Regions from separate parts of the Homo sapiens genome. Here all the other regions are linked to region 3. Evidence: promoter capture Hi-C in human tissues and cell types (Jung and others, 2019). All regions are on one chromosome and are shown on one strand. Each heading gives the region's core, a stretch centred on a gene start or on the middle of the fragment in contact. The rest is flanking DNA. Distances are from core to core; before and after follow the strand shown.

Region 1 (4,026 bases), core at 1,193-3,692, 37 kb before region 3:
TTTGATCATTTGAAGCCAACACCATTTGTGTTAACTATCTATACAAAATACCAGATTATTCTACCCCAGAAGAAGTGATACATAGTGTTTTTGCTCTCAACATACCTATTTCTCGAGCAAGAATAATACTGCTGAGGCGTATCGGTTGCGTAGATTCAGCAATGAGTACAGCTTTTTGGGAACACAAGGTGCCATTTTCATATAAAGGCTCAACAGTAACTGCATCATGATGGGTGGAATGCCTGCCAGAACAAAATTCTTAAGAGTGTGAAATAGGTGGGTTAAAATTAACTTTTAGTGGAACATAGATTCTCACACTTCTTCCATGTTACATACTACCAGGTATATGTAAATGACACTTTTTAAAGAAGGAACATTGCTTAGGGATGCGATAATTAAACTGAGAGATTGATGAGAACTTTCCCAATGATCCCTTGAACAAAGTCCCAGAAATATCCCTCCCTCAATTTTTTTTAAAAGATTTTTATATTCTTCCCTCAGTATGCAGAAATACGACTGATGTGTTTCTAGTAATGAGAGGGGACTTTCTCATACTCTGAGGAAAGTTTCCTTCAATCCTAGAAACCAGGCTTCTGATATCTAGGATGGAAAAGGTGCCTAAATTATGAGGTGTGAGTCCAACTCAAAATACCAAAAACATTCATAAATATTTTTATTCTTATTTATTATTATGTTTTTGAGACCGAGTCACTTTGTTGCCCAAGCTGAAGTGCAGCAGGGCGATCTCAGCTCACTGCAACATTCGCCTCCAGGGTTCAAGCGATTCTCCTGCCTCAGCCTCTCGAGTAGCTGAGATTACAGGTGTCTGCCACTATGCCCGACTAATTTTTGTATTTTTAGTAGGGATGGGCTTTCATCATGTTGGCCAGGCTGGTCTTGAACTCCTGACTTCAAGTGATCTGCCTGCCCCGGCCTCCCAAAGTGCTGGGATTACAGGCGTGAGCCACTGCGCCCGGCCGAATGTTTTTATTTTAAATAGAGACGGGGTCTCACTATGTTGATCCGGCTGGTCTCAAACTCCTGGCCTCAAGTAATCCTCCTGCCTTGGCCTCCCAAAGTGCTGGGATTACAGGCGTGAGCCACCATGCCTGGCCTCATTAATATTTTTGGAGTGATAGAAGAAATGGCTTTCAATGCTGGAAAGATGCCTTGCATCACCCTCACGGTCAGGAAACACACACGTCACACTGGATCATCTTACAAGCTCACTTTCCTTATACTTCCTCATAAAATGAGAGGTGAATTTATACTCGGAACAAACCTCATTGCTTCTCCTAGGAGATGGCAAAGGGGTATCTACTCCATCTAGGATGAATGCACTGGCATCCTGAAGCTCACTTCGGTTAGGTTCTCTCATACCTTAGGCAACCACATAACCCATCATTGGGTCCTCTCACACCAGAAAATCATGTCTCTTCATCTTCAGTCAGGAAGTCATTATCCCGGAGTTGTGTGTACCCCCTGTCCTCACACTTCAAGCGGGTACCCTTTTATAAATGGGGCAATTTTGATAATACAGACAGATCTCATCTCCACCCACGATAAATCTTCTCATATTCCCAGAAGTTTACACTTCATAGTCTCTGGGCCTCACTTTCCTCGTCTGTGAAATGGGAGTAATAGTACTTACTTCATAAGACTGCAAAAAGCGAATGAGTTAACACATGTAAAGTGCTTAGTTAACCCCCAATACTTGGCTGTTGTGTTTTAAGTCCTTCTCACATTGAATAGCTCATCTATAGTTAGTGGGGACCCTCGCACCCCAAGTTTTCCTGTTCCTACAGAAATTTCCTCAGATATGGGGAACTTCCTCTTACTCTAGTTGTTTACATTGGAAGTCATCAGTACCTGTGGCCTCCAACACAGGGCTTCCCTTTACCCTGACGGCTGCTCATAGTGACCACCCCTTCCCAACACACACAGAGAAGAGGCCAGTCCCACATCCCGAGAATTCCTCACACGTCTGGAAGATTGTCACACAGCTGGAGGATATACCACATGAGTAGGACACGCCACACCCAAGGGTCTGCTCCTCGCCACCTTCACTGACACCACACTCTCCTCCCCTACCGGCTAGGCCCCTTCACGCGGCCCCACACGGTATTCCTGTGGGATCTTACAGAGGGAACCCCCCTCACCCTTACTGGATGGTAGTGAGGGTGCATATCCTTGTCACCCACCACCCCTCACCAAGTGTAGCAGCCCCGCTGGGCCTCCAGCAGGAAAGGCACCCGGCCTGGCTCTCGGCCGAAGGGTAGCAACACCTGTGGCACGTTAAGTTTGTTGGCCAGGGTCCCACGCAAAACCAGAAACAACAACAGGAGGCGGTGTAGACGCAAGAAGAAAAAGAGCCCGAAGCCTCGGCGTCTTGATGACGCCGGACAGCCAGTCATGGCGACTGCCAGGTCTCGGGTTCCCGCTCAACTACAGCCGGCTCACAGCTCCATCAGCCAATCCACAGGCGTGACGTCAGCAGAGGGGGATGGGACCTGCTTCTTGCTCGGATGTGTGGGCATTTTTAAATGCAGTCCTTCAGCAAGCCAATATAATGGAAACTTTTGGCACAAACCCAGCTAAAACACCTCAAACTCTCTTAAAGGGCTTTCCTAAATACTGGATGGCAGACCTTTTTAACAGTAAGGAACAAGCAGAAAAGTCTAAAAAAAACCCTTTAATTTCTTCCAGTTTTAATTTCTTCTGTTGCACACTGTTTATCTTAACACCACACCCTCCGCCCGACAAAAAAACTTTTTGCAATGATTTCCAGTTAGCATTGGTCCATGCCTATCAACGGAAAATTGTGCAGTCTCTGGGATAAACAGCTCGACTTTGTCAAGGGAACCGTGTATTTTTACTAGAAGTCAGATTCACGTCCGGCCTCCAGGCCAGAATGCAGGAAATGCCAGACACTGGCGTCTCAAAAGCAGCTTTCAAAGTTATCCACTCACACAGCCGGCCTCTAAGCAAATACTCTTGAGAGCACTTGTTGTTTTCTCCAAATATCCAAACAGAATATAAACTCAAAGCTGTTTCAGTACAGTTGGTTAAAACCACGCATTTATAGTAGTGATCAGCATTATATATTGTTTTAAGGAGCATAAATCCATAGTTTATAAGGATTGATATGGTTGTGAAGGAAAATGTATATAGTTCAGCCTGAGATGTCAGTGTTAACCTATAAAAGGCCCAGCACATTAAGTGTTCTTTCTAATCTTCATGTTTACTCTGACAATACTTATCTCCATTTTACAGATGATAAAACTAAACATTTGCTCTATATTAAATCCTGTTGCTCCAGCTGGGTGCGGTGGCTCACGCCCGTAATCCCAGCATTTTGGGAAGCTGAGGCAGGTGGATCACCTGAAGGTCAGGAGTTCGAGACCAGCCTGGCCAACATGGTGAAGCCCTGTCTCTACTTAAAATATAAAAAATTACCCGGGCATGGTGGCAGGTGCCTGTAATCCCAGCTACTCGGGAGGCTGAGGCAGGAGAATCTCTTGAACCAGGAGGCGGAGGTTGCAGTGAGCCGAGATCGAGCCATTACGCTCCAGCCCAGGCAACAAGAATGAAACTTCATCTCAAAAATAATAATAATAAAGAATAAATCCTGTTGCTACCACCCACAAAGATGCTATTTTTAACCCAAACCTCATAGCTTCTGTGGAGAAAGCACATTTAGTTTTAATAAATAAAAGTCAAATAGGTCTGAGGGTTGGAGGGACTGGTTCTTTATTTCAAAAAGACACTTGTCAATATTCAGTATCAAAACAGTTGCACTATTGATTTCTCTTTCTCCCAATCGGCCCCAAAGAGACCACATAAAAGGAGAGTACATTTTAAGCCAATAAGCTGCAGGATGTACACCTAACAGACCTCCTAGAAACCTTACCAGAAAATGGGGACTGGGTAGGGAAGGAAACTTAAAAGATCAACAAACTGCCAGCCCACGGACTGCAGAGGCTGTCACAGCCAGATGGGGTGGCCAGGGTGCCACAAACCCAAAGC
Region 2 (3,726 bases), core at 627-3,126, 58 kb before region 3:
CCATGTCCTCAAAAAAGATAAATAAACAGACAAATACAATGTATTTTAATATTTGATACTTTGGAAAAAAATAACAATATGAACTGAAAATATGGGGGAAAAAAAGAACATTTAAGTTCACCTGGGGAATTCAGGGAAGTTCCTGACACACAGTTGGGGCTCAATAAATATTGAATAACTTAATTTATTTTGTAGGTATGATTGTATTTGTTGAAAAATGTCCTAGGTACCTTAAAATGACTAAAAAGCAAACAACATTGGATCAATAACTCTCCTTAATGTGTGTTAGACAAATAATATAGGCTGCTAACTAACAATATTATACAAGAAATACTGTACCTTTCAAGTCTGATAGAATTTTTTTGGTGTTGGCAACTTTTCTTGAAGTGGAGTAGCAGAGGTACTGCTCCTTTTGGAGCAGGGCTACGCTATAGACAGTGTGCCCAAAGTAGAGACATTCTTATTCAGAGTAAGCCTACTAGGCCCTACCTAATCTGCCCCTCCCCTACTCTATTACTTCTACTATTTCCTGATTCACTGCACTTTAGCTTCACTGTCTTCCTTACTCTTCTTTAATCATGCCAAATATGTTCCTACTTCAGAACCTTTGCCATTGCTCTTTCCTTTCCCTAGAAGTCTTTCACCAATTATCCACATGGCTTATTGTGCCAGTGTCGCCTCATCAGAGAGGACTTTTCTAACTATGCTAGGTAAAGACTGGGTGTGGTGGATCACACCTGTAATCCAAGCACTTTGGGAGGCCTAGGCAGGAGGTTCATTTAAGGCCAGTAGTTCATCCAGCCTACTCAGCCTAGCAAGACATCTCTACAAAAAAAGACACAATTAGTATGGCACGGTGGTGTATGCCTATAGTCCCAGCTACTCAGAAGGCTGAGGTGGGAGGATTGCTCAAGGCTACTATGAGTTATGATCATGCCTCTGCACTCTAACCTGGGCATCAGAGTGAGACTCTATCTCTAAAAAAAAAAAAAAAAATCTGGCTGGGTGTGGTGGCTCATGCCTGGAATCCTAGCACTTTGGGAGGCCAAGGCAGGTGAATCGCTTGAGTCCAGGAGTTCAAGAGCAGTGTGGGCAACATGGCGAGACCTTGTGTCTATAAAAAAATACAAAAATTAGCTGGGCGTGGTGGCACGTGCCTGTGGTCCCAGCTACTTGGGAGGCTGAGCTGGGAGGATCACTTGAGCCTGGAGTTTACAGGTTGCAGTGAGCCAAGAGCCAAGATTGCACCACTGCACTCCAGCCTGGGCAACAGAGTGAGACCCTGTCTCTACAAAAATAATAATTTTTTGGCCAGGCACAGTGGCTCATGCCTGTAATCCCAGCACTGTGGAAGGCCGAAGTGGGTGGATCATCTGAGGTCAGGAGTTCAAGTCCAGCCTGGCCAACATGGTGAAACCCCATCTCTACTAAAAATACAAAAATTAGCCGGGCATGGTGGCGCACACCTGTAATCCCAGCTGCTTAGGAGGCCGAGGCAGGAGAATAACTCGAACCTGGGAGGCGGAGGTGGGAGTGAGCAGAAATCGCGCCACTGCACTCCAGCTTGGGCAACAAGAGCAAAACTCCACCTCAAAAAAAAAATAATAATAATAATAATAATATTTTAAGAATCTAACTATACTGGACAAAATGGCAATTTGTATACCCAGAGCTTAGAACAATGTTGAGCATATAGTAGAAATATAATAGATATTTGCTGAATGAATTTCTTTCAGATTAAAATATTCAAAAAAAATACCAAATAAAACACAGAGAGATGGAGTCCAAATCATATTTCAATTTTCTGAGAATTTAAATCTTCATTCTCTTCTGTTTTCATTGACTATTACAGATCTCCGTGTACCTTTTTTTTTTTTTTTTTTGAGATGGAGTTTCAGGCCGGGCGCGGTGGCTCACGCCTGTAATCCCAGCACTTTGGGAGGCCGAGGCGGGCAGATCACAAGGTCAGGAGATCGAGACCATCCTGGCTAACACAGTGAAACCCCGTCTCTACTAAAAATACAAAAAATTAGCTGGGCGAGGTGACGGGCGCCTGTAGTCCCAGCTACTCGGGAGGCTGAGGCAGGAGAACGGCGTGAACCCCGGGGGCGGAGCCTGCAGTGAGCCGAGATTGCGCCACTGCACTCCGGCCTGGGCGACAGCGAGACTCCGTCTCAAAAAAAAAAAAAAAAAAAAGATGGAGTTTTGCTCTTGTTGCCCAGGCTGGAGTGCAGTGGTGCGATCTTGGCTCACCGCAACCTCCACTTCCCGGGGGTTCAAGCGATTCTCCTGCCTCAGCCTCCCGAGTAGCTGGGATTACAGGCATGCACCACCACGCCCGGCTAATTTTTGTATTTTTAGTAGAGACGGGGTTTCTTCATGTTGGTCAAGCTGTTCTCAAACTCCCGACCTCAGGTGATCAGCCGGCCTCGGCCTCCCAAAGTGCTGGGATTACATGCGTGAGCCACCACGCCCGGCCTCTGTGTACCTTTCTTTGTTCAATCCTTGCATAGCAGGTTTAGTGAATTTTTAAAAATTGCTCTCAACACAATAAAAATATTAGTTAAACATCTACTGGAGACAATAGCATATTTTCTCAATTATCATGTACAAATAGAAAAGAGAATTAAATAAAATTCTCACATGTTCTTCCAAACTCCGTTTTCCCCATTCCCCTAATTACAGTTTTTTTATTTCCCTAATTACAATTTGATTGAGGTTGCAAATAAGCATTGAAGTTAGTAGATCCCAAGTTCCAACTATACTCCTTTTCTCTACTTACTCTGCTAGAAATTATGACAGTAATAACTTATAATTCTTTATTAAAAATAAAACCTATAGGAAAACACTGTAGTAGTATTATAATCTTTTTTTTTTTTTTGAGACGGAGTCTCGCTGTGCCGCCCAGGTTGGAGTGCAGTGGCACGATTTTGGCTCACTGCAACCTCTGCCTCCCGGGTTCACACCATTCTCCTGCCTCAGCCTCCCGAGTAGCTGGGACTACAGGCGCCCGCCACCACGCCTGGCTAATTTTTAGTATTTTTAGTAGAGTCAGGGTTTCACCGTGTTAGCCAGGATGGTCTCGATCTCCTGACCTTGTGATCAGCCCGCCTCGGCCTCCCAAAGTGCTGGAATTACAGGCGTGAGCCACCGCGCCCGGCCATAATCATTCTTAATAAATTATTTTACCAAAGAACATGTCTAGGATGCTCAAGGAAGTGTAGACTGGCAGCTAAAACTTGAACAAAAGGATACTTTTATGGACAAAGACAAGATTAGTCTGGCCCAGTTGTGAGGCAGTCACCATGGCTGTTTTGTCATCCAGTATAGCCACTTTCTCAGAATGAGACCCGTTAAGTGCAACTCTATGGTCTTGCAATTCCAGTATATAATGTTCCAGGGGAAATTTCACCTCTGTAAGACATGAAAGATACATAAATGTAATGACAGCAGCCATTCCAGTAGATAATGATGTATTCTTGATCATAAAGGAATGATCAGGAAGCAGACATAAAATAAGAGTATGATCTGCTTCTAATGTTTTTCCTGCTATGATGAATTTCTACATGTAACCATTTGGGGGGAGTATATGAGTTAAAATATATTGCTGGAGGCTGGGTGTGGTGGCTCCGCCTGTAATCCCAGCACTTTGGGAGGCCAAGGCGGGTGGATCACCTGAAGTTAGGAGTTCGAGACCAGCCTGGCCAACATGGTGAAACCCCGTCT
Region 3 (3,948 bases), core at 235-2,734:
TCTCTCTGCTGCCCTAGGAGCAATGCTTCATATGGCATCTCCATGGCATAAAGGCAAATGCCTGCATTGGCCAAGATAAATAAACCCATATATGGCCAGGGTCAGTGTGACCTCCATTTCCCATTGTGAAATCCGAGCTGGTTTTGTTGGACAGTTGAGAGATGAGAGGTTCCCTATTAATACACATATCCACATGCCAAGACTTGGACATAAAAGCTAAGAATGTGGCATGGGGGAGGAGGTAGGATAAGTGACAGCATTCTGAACTTAGAGTCCCCTCTCTTTGTCCAGGTCCTGGGAAAGATAATTAAATTCCTGGGTTGGTGATAGGAGATAAATGAGACCTTTACATGTATTAAAAAAAAACTTTTAACATGTTGGAGATGTCTTTAAGAAAGAAAATACATGCCATTATGAGAATATACCAGCATGTGGTTATATGCAAAAATGTATGTGAGTATATATGTCTGTGTTCCATGAACCCACAAGTGTGTTTGGAATTTCGTCATACATTAACATAAAGATCTATATGTGTAGATTAAACCCATCCTCCATCTCTCTAATACTCACATCAGCAGCCTTCTTCTCTGCCAGTTCCAGCTTCTCCTGGGCATCCTTCAAAGCTTCAGAATACTTGTCCAGCTCATCCTCTGTCCCTTTCAGCTTCTTCTGCATGGCTGCCAGCTCATCCTCCAGCTATAGGAGCCCAGAGAGTCACACACAAAAACACACAAACACAACAATGCAGGGTTGGACCCTGGGCTCTTGGAGCCCTGAGTGTAACCTCCATGTTACCATCCCTAGTGAGACACACTTTCTCCCCAGCCACTTCCAGCCCACTGCCTCAGGAGTTATGCCGTAGCTTGGCCTGTGACCCTGTAATCTCTGATCCTAAGATGACCAAGCCATCCTGGGTTTTCATCCAAGACCCCTGGATGATAAATATCTAAAGTGTAGATGCCCGTGATGCTATTTGAGTGAAAAGAGATGCTCTTTCCCTCTAGAACTCTTACCTTTTCCTCTAGAAGTCAAGGGTTCTTCCAAAACATGGTCCATTTCTACTTAAATTCAGCAGACATACTGTGGCTCACTGACTTTCCCAAGGTCACAAAGGCAGTCTGAGACAGATATGTTAGATATCCTCTGCTCCTCCAGTGAGGCTGGGGAGTCCATCCCACCCCCAAAAAGGAGGTGACACCAGTAGTCACTGTCTTTCCCATGAAAACTCCCTTCCATTTCACAGTCTTGTTCACTAGCAGATGAGAGAGATCAATGCCAGTGCCTACCTGTTTACTTCTTTCTTCTGCCTGCTTCTGCTCAGCTTCAGCTTGCTCTGCCCGATCCAGAGCATTCTCCTTGTCTAACTTCAGCATCTGCATCTTTTTCTTGATGGCCTCCATCATGAGCAGTGGCTGTTGGTAGGCTCACCTGTGAACACTGGAGAACTGGAGACTGGGGCAAGAAAGAAGGGGCTGCTGCCTGAGTGACCAGGAGGTCCCCAGACTTGAGTCTTTATCTGTGCTCATAGCTCCACCTTTTGTTCCTAATATGGTCTTTCCAGCTCCCTCCACCCCATCATTGTTCTCCTGGGGGAACACAGGGTGAGACGCTTTGATGAACTGACATCACCAGCAAAAAAAATATCTAGCAACAGCTGAGGCTGATTTTAGACAATGGAAAGTGGGGGAGGGAAGAGGTTCTCCCTGACCCTGAAACTTTCCACTCATTCTGGGCAGCTCTATGGATGTTTTAAAAGAAGAGGAAGAGGGGAGGGAAGAACATTGAAATAGAGAAGTGTACTTTGGCAATTCTAGGTTGGCAGTTTGCATCCAGGGGGTCCTGGTTGCCTTTCAGCTTCCCGTTTCACTCTCCCCCAGACTGTGTTGAATGCTGGTCAAACTCCGTTAGTTGAGTTTTAGCTTTTGATTCCTGGTATTCAAGGAGCTTGGGCACAGGGAAGAGGGGAGGTCACTCATGATCCTTAACAATTCTCCCAGATCCCCAGATCAAATTGCTGTGCTATTCTGGGAGTCTCCGATTGGCAGGGAGACGTTTTTCCTCCCCACCAAGAGCCACAAGAGTAGAGTAAGAGGTAGGGTTGGAATCTCCAACCCTATCCTTGAAGGCTATCCCAGAGCTTCAAGTGGGGTGGGGAGAGAAACAGGGGAGGGTCAGAACAATCCAGACAGGATCATACCCTTTGTTTTCCCACAGTAATCTTAAAATAGAACTGTTGTACCCACACAGACTTTGGTCTGTGTGGCTCTCTCCTCTTCTTCCCTTTATCTTCTCCCTTCTTAATTCTCCCCAACGCTGCCACTCACCACATCATCGTAATCATCATTATCAGCTCTATTCTTTCCAGTTTAGTTCCAGACCATGTTTATTCTTCCATTGGGAGCCTTGTTACTAACAGGTGGCAAGGATACCAGTCCACTGGCACCATACACCTGAAAATATGCCAAGGGAGAGGTGGGCACTGTTCAAGGTGACCAGATATATTGGACAAATATAAATGGCTCTAGTTAGTCATTTATGTCAGGATACTGAGAGTTAATGCTAAGCCCCAGCAATGGGGGAACGGAGACACCCACCAGGCCAGTGGGTAGAGCAGAGCTGGAGTCCACTATTGAGAGCTTCCAGTCACTAGAGGTAGATAGGCAGATAGACCATCAGCTGACTCTCGACAGAGAGAGGAGAAACCAAGTCTCCTTTCTCTGGAGATTAGCCAGGGAAAGGGGTTAGGGAACAGGGAGAGGAAGGAGTGGAAAATGGGGGGGGGGTGGGCAAGTGAATAAGGGGGAGAAAAATACGAGGACAAGAAAAGGCAAAGAAATGTCCCTTCTAGTATAAGGGGACAAGAAATAGAAAGATTCTATCCTCAAATTCCAACTCTCTCCCATTCCCACACCAGCCCTCTTAGGTTAAGATTGAAATGCACATAGGTTGCAGCTACTGGACTTTTGGGGGGGTCCTGGAGAGAAGAGGTTCAGTAAAAGAGACAGGAGCCCCAGAGATTGAAGTATGAAAGAGGGTGGTGCTGAATCACCTGCTGCTGTAAGAATATGTTTGACATTTAGTTGGTTCCTAATTAAACAACCCAATATCAAACATATCACACAGAAGCAGGCAGGAGAGCTTTGGGGGTCATCTGCCTTCCTTCCAGTTGCAAAGAAAGAATAGAGCAGACACCAGGCACCAATCATGTCTAGGTGGAGAGCCATCTCCTTGAGGAAGGGTACTGGCTCCTGCTCTTCACCTCCCAAGACAGCCAGCTCTTGCTTATTGTCCTACGTGTCATCCCTGCCTCAGCTCCTCCTCTACAAGCTCCTGGCCTTTGCTGGATCACGTTGGCCTAAACCAGGAAGAATACCTGGCAGGGCTCCACATCCGGGCAACTATCGTTCCCTAGAGCTCCCACACAGAGCTTCTCACCCTGATGTCACGGCCCCAGCGCCCAGAGGATCAGCCGTGTCAGCAGCTCCTCATCAAAATTGCCACCTGCTCTCTTCAATGCCATTCCAGCTGCCCTGAGGCTTTCCGGGGTGGGGGCAGAGGACTTGTACACCCTGCTTTACCTTTCCAACAGAACTCCTAACCTTCCCAGATCACCCCCACAAGACTACTGAGGTCCGTTCAGGAGGCACCATCCTGGCACCGTCCTGCTCTTAAGTGCTGCAGATGCTTGGCTTCCCCTTTCTGCCAGCTTAACCCTTCTCACCTTCTCCCCATGTCCTCCAGGCATCCTCCTTAAAGTCACCCTTGGATGTCCAGAACAGAAGAATAACTTGTCTCCCTGGCAGGCTCCATCGTGGGCTCCAGAAGAGAAGACTTATAGTTCCCCACCTTGCCTGGCAGAATTGAAACTAAGGCTTTAGACTGAGGGTAAGAGAGGAAACTTCTGCCAGGAAGCAGCCTGCAGTCCACAGGAGTCCTCTCCTCTTCTAG

What was found. Contacts are between HindIII fragments. The study calls those that stand out against the background at their distance.
Region 1: a contact is called between the fragment with the promoter of NUP210L here and the fragment with the promoter of TPM3 in region 3, in 1 of the 25 tissues and cell types used here (adrenal gland).
Region 2: a fragment that was not itself captured here is called in contact with the fragment with the promoter of TPM3 in region 3 in 1 of the 25 tissues and cell types used here (psoas muscle).

Annotation. Positions count from the first base shown.
Region 1 is chr1:154,152,631-154,156,656 of GRCh38, forward strand. It overlaps NUP210L (nucleoporin 210 like), which reads right to left and starts at 2,443. Exons shown (of 40, transcript NM_207308.3): 1 at 2,212-2,443; 2 at 106-242. The coding sequence starts at 2,414. It also overlaps a transcript of TPM3 not described here. RefSeq lists enhancers at 1,776-2,276, 2,277-2,777 and a silencer at 3,384-3,561. The HindIII fragment of the contact is 16,458 bases long and covers 1-4,026 here.
Region 2 is chr1:154,132,559-154,136,284 of GRCh38, forward strand. NUP210L (nucleoporin 210 like) reads right to left here. Exons shown (of 40, transcript NM_207308.3): 7 at 3,256-3,414. Among named protein-coding and RNA genes, the nearest start is that of NUP210L, 21 kb to the right of the region's middle. The HindIII fragment of the contact is 5,197 bases long and covers 1-3,726 here.
Region 3 is chr1:154,190,616-154,194,563 of GRCh38, forward strand. TPM3 (tropomyosin 3) reads right to left here and starts at 1,485. Exons shown (of 10, transcript NM_152263.4): 1 at 1,287-1,485; 2 at 571-696. The coding sequence starts at 1,403. MIR190B (microRNA 190b) reads right to left here and starts at 3,128; the gene lies at 3,050-3,128. The HindIII fragment of the contact is 10,185 bases long and covers 1-3,948 here.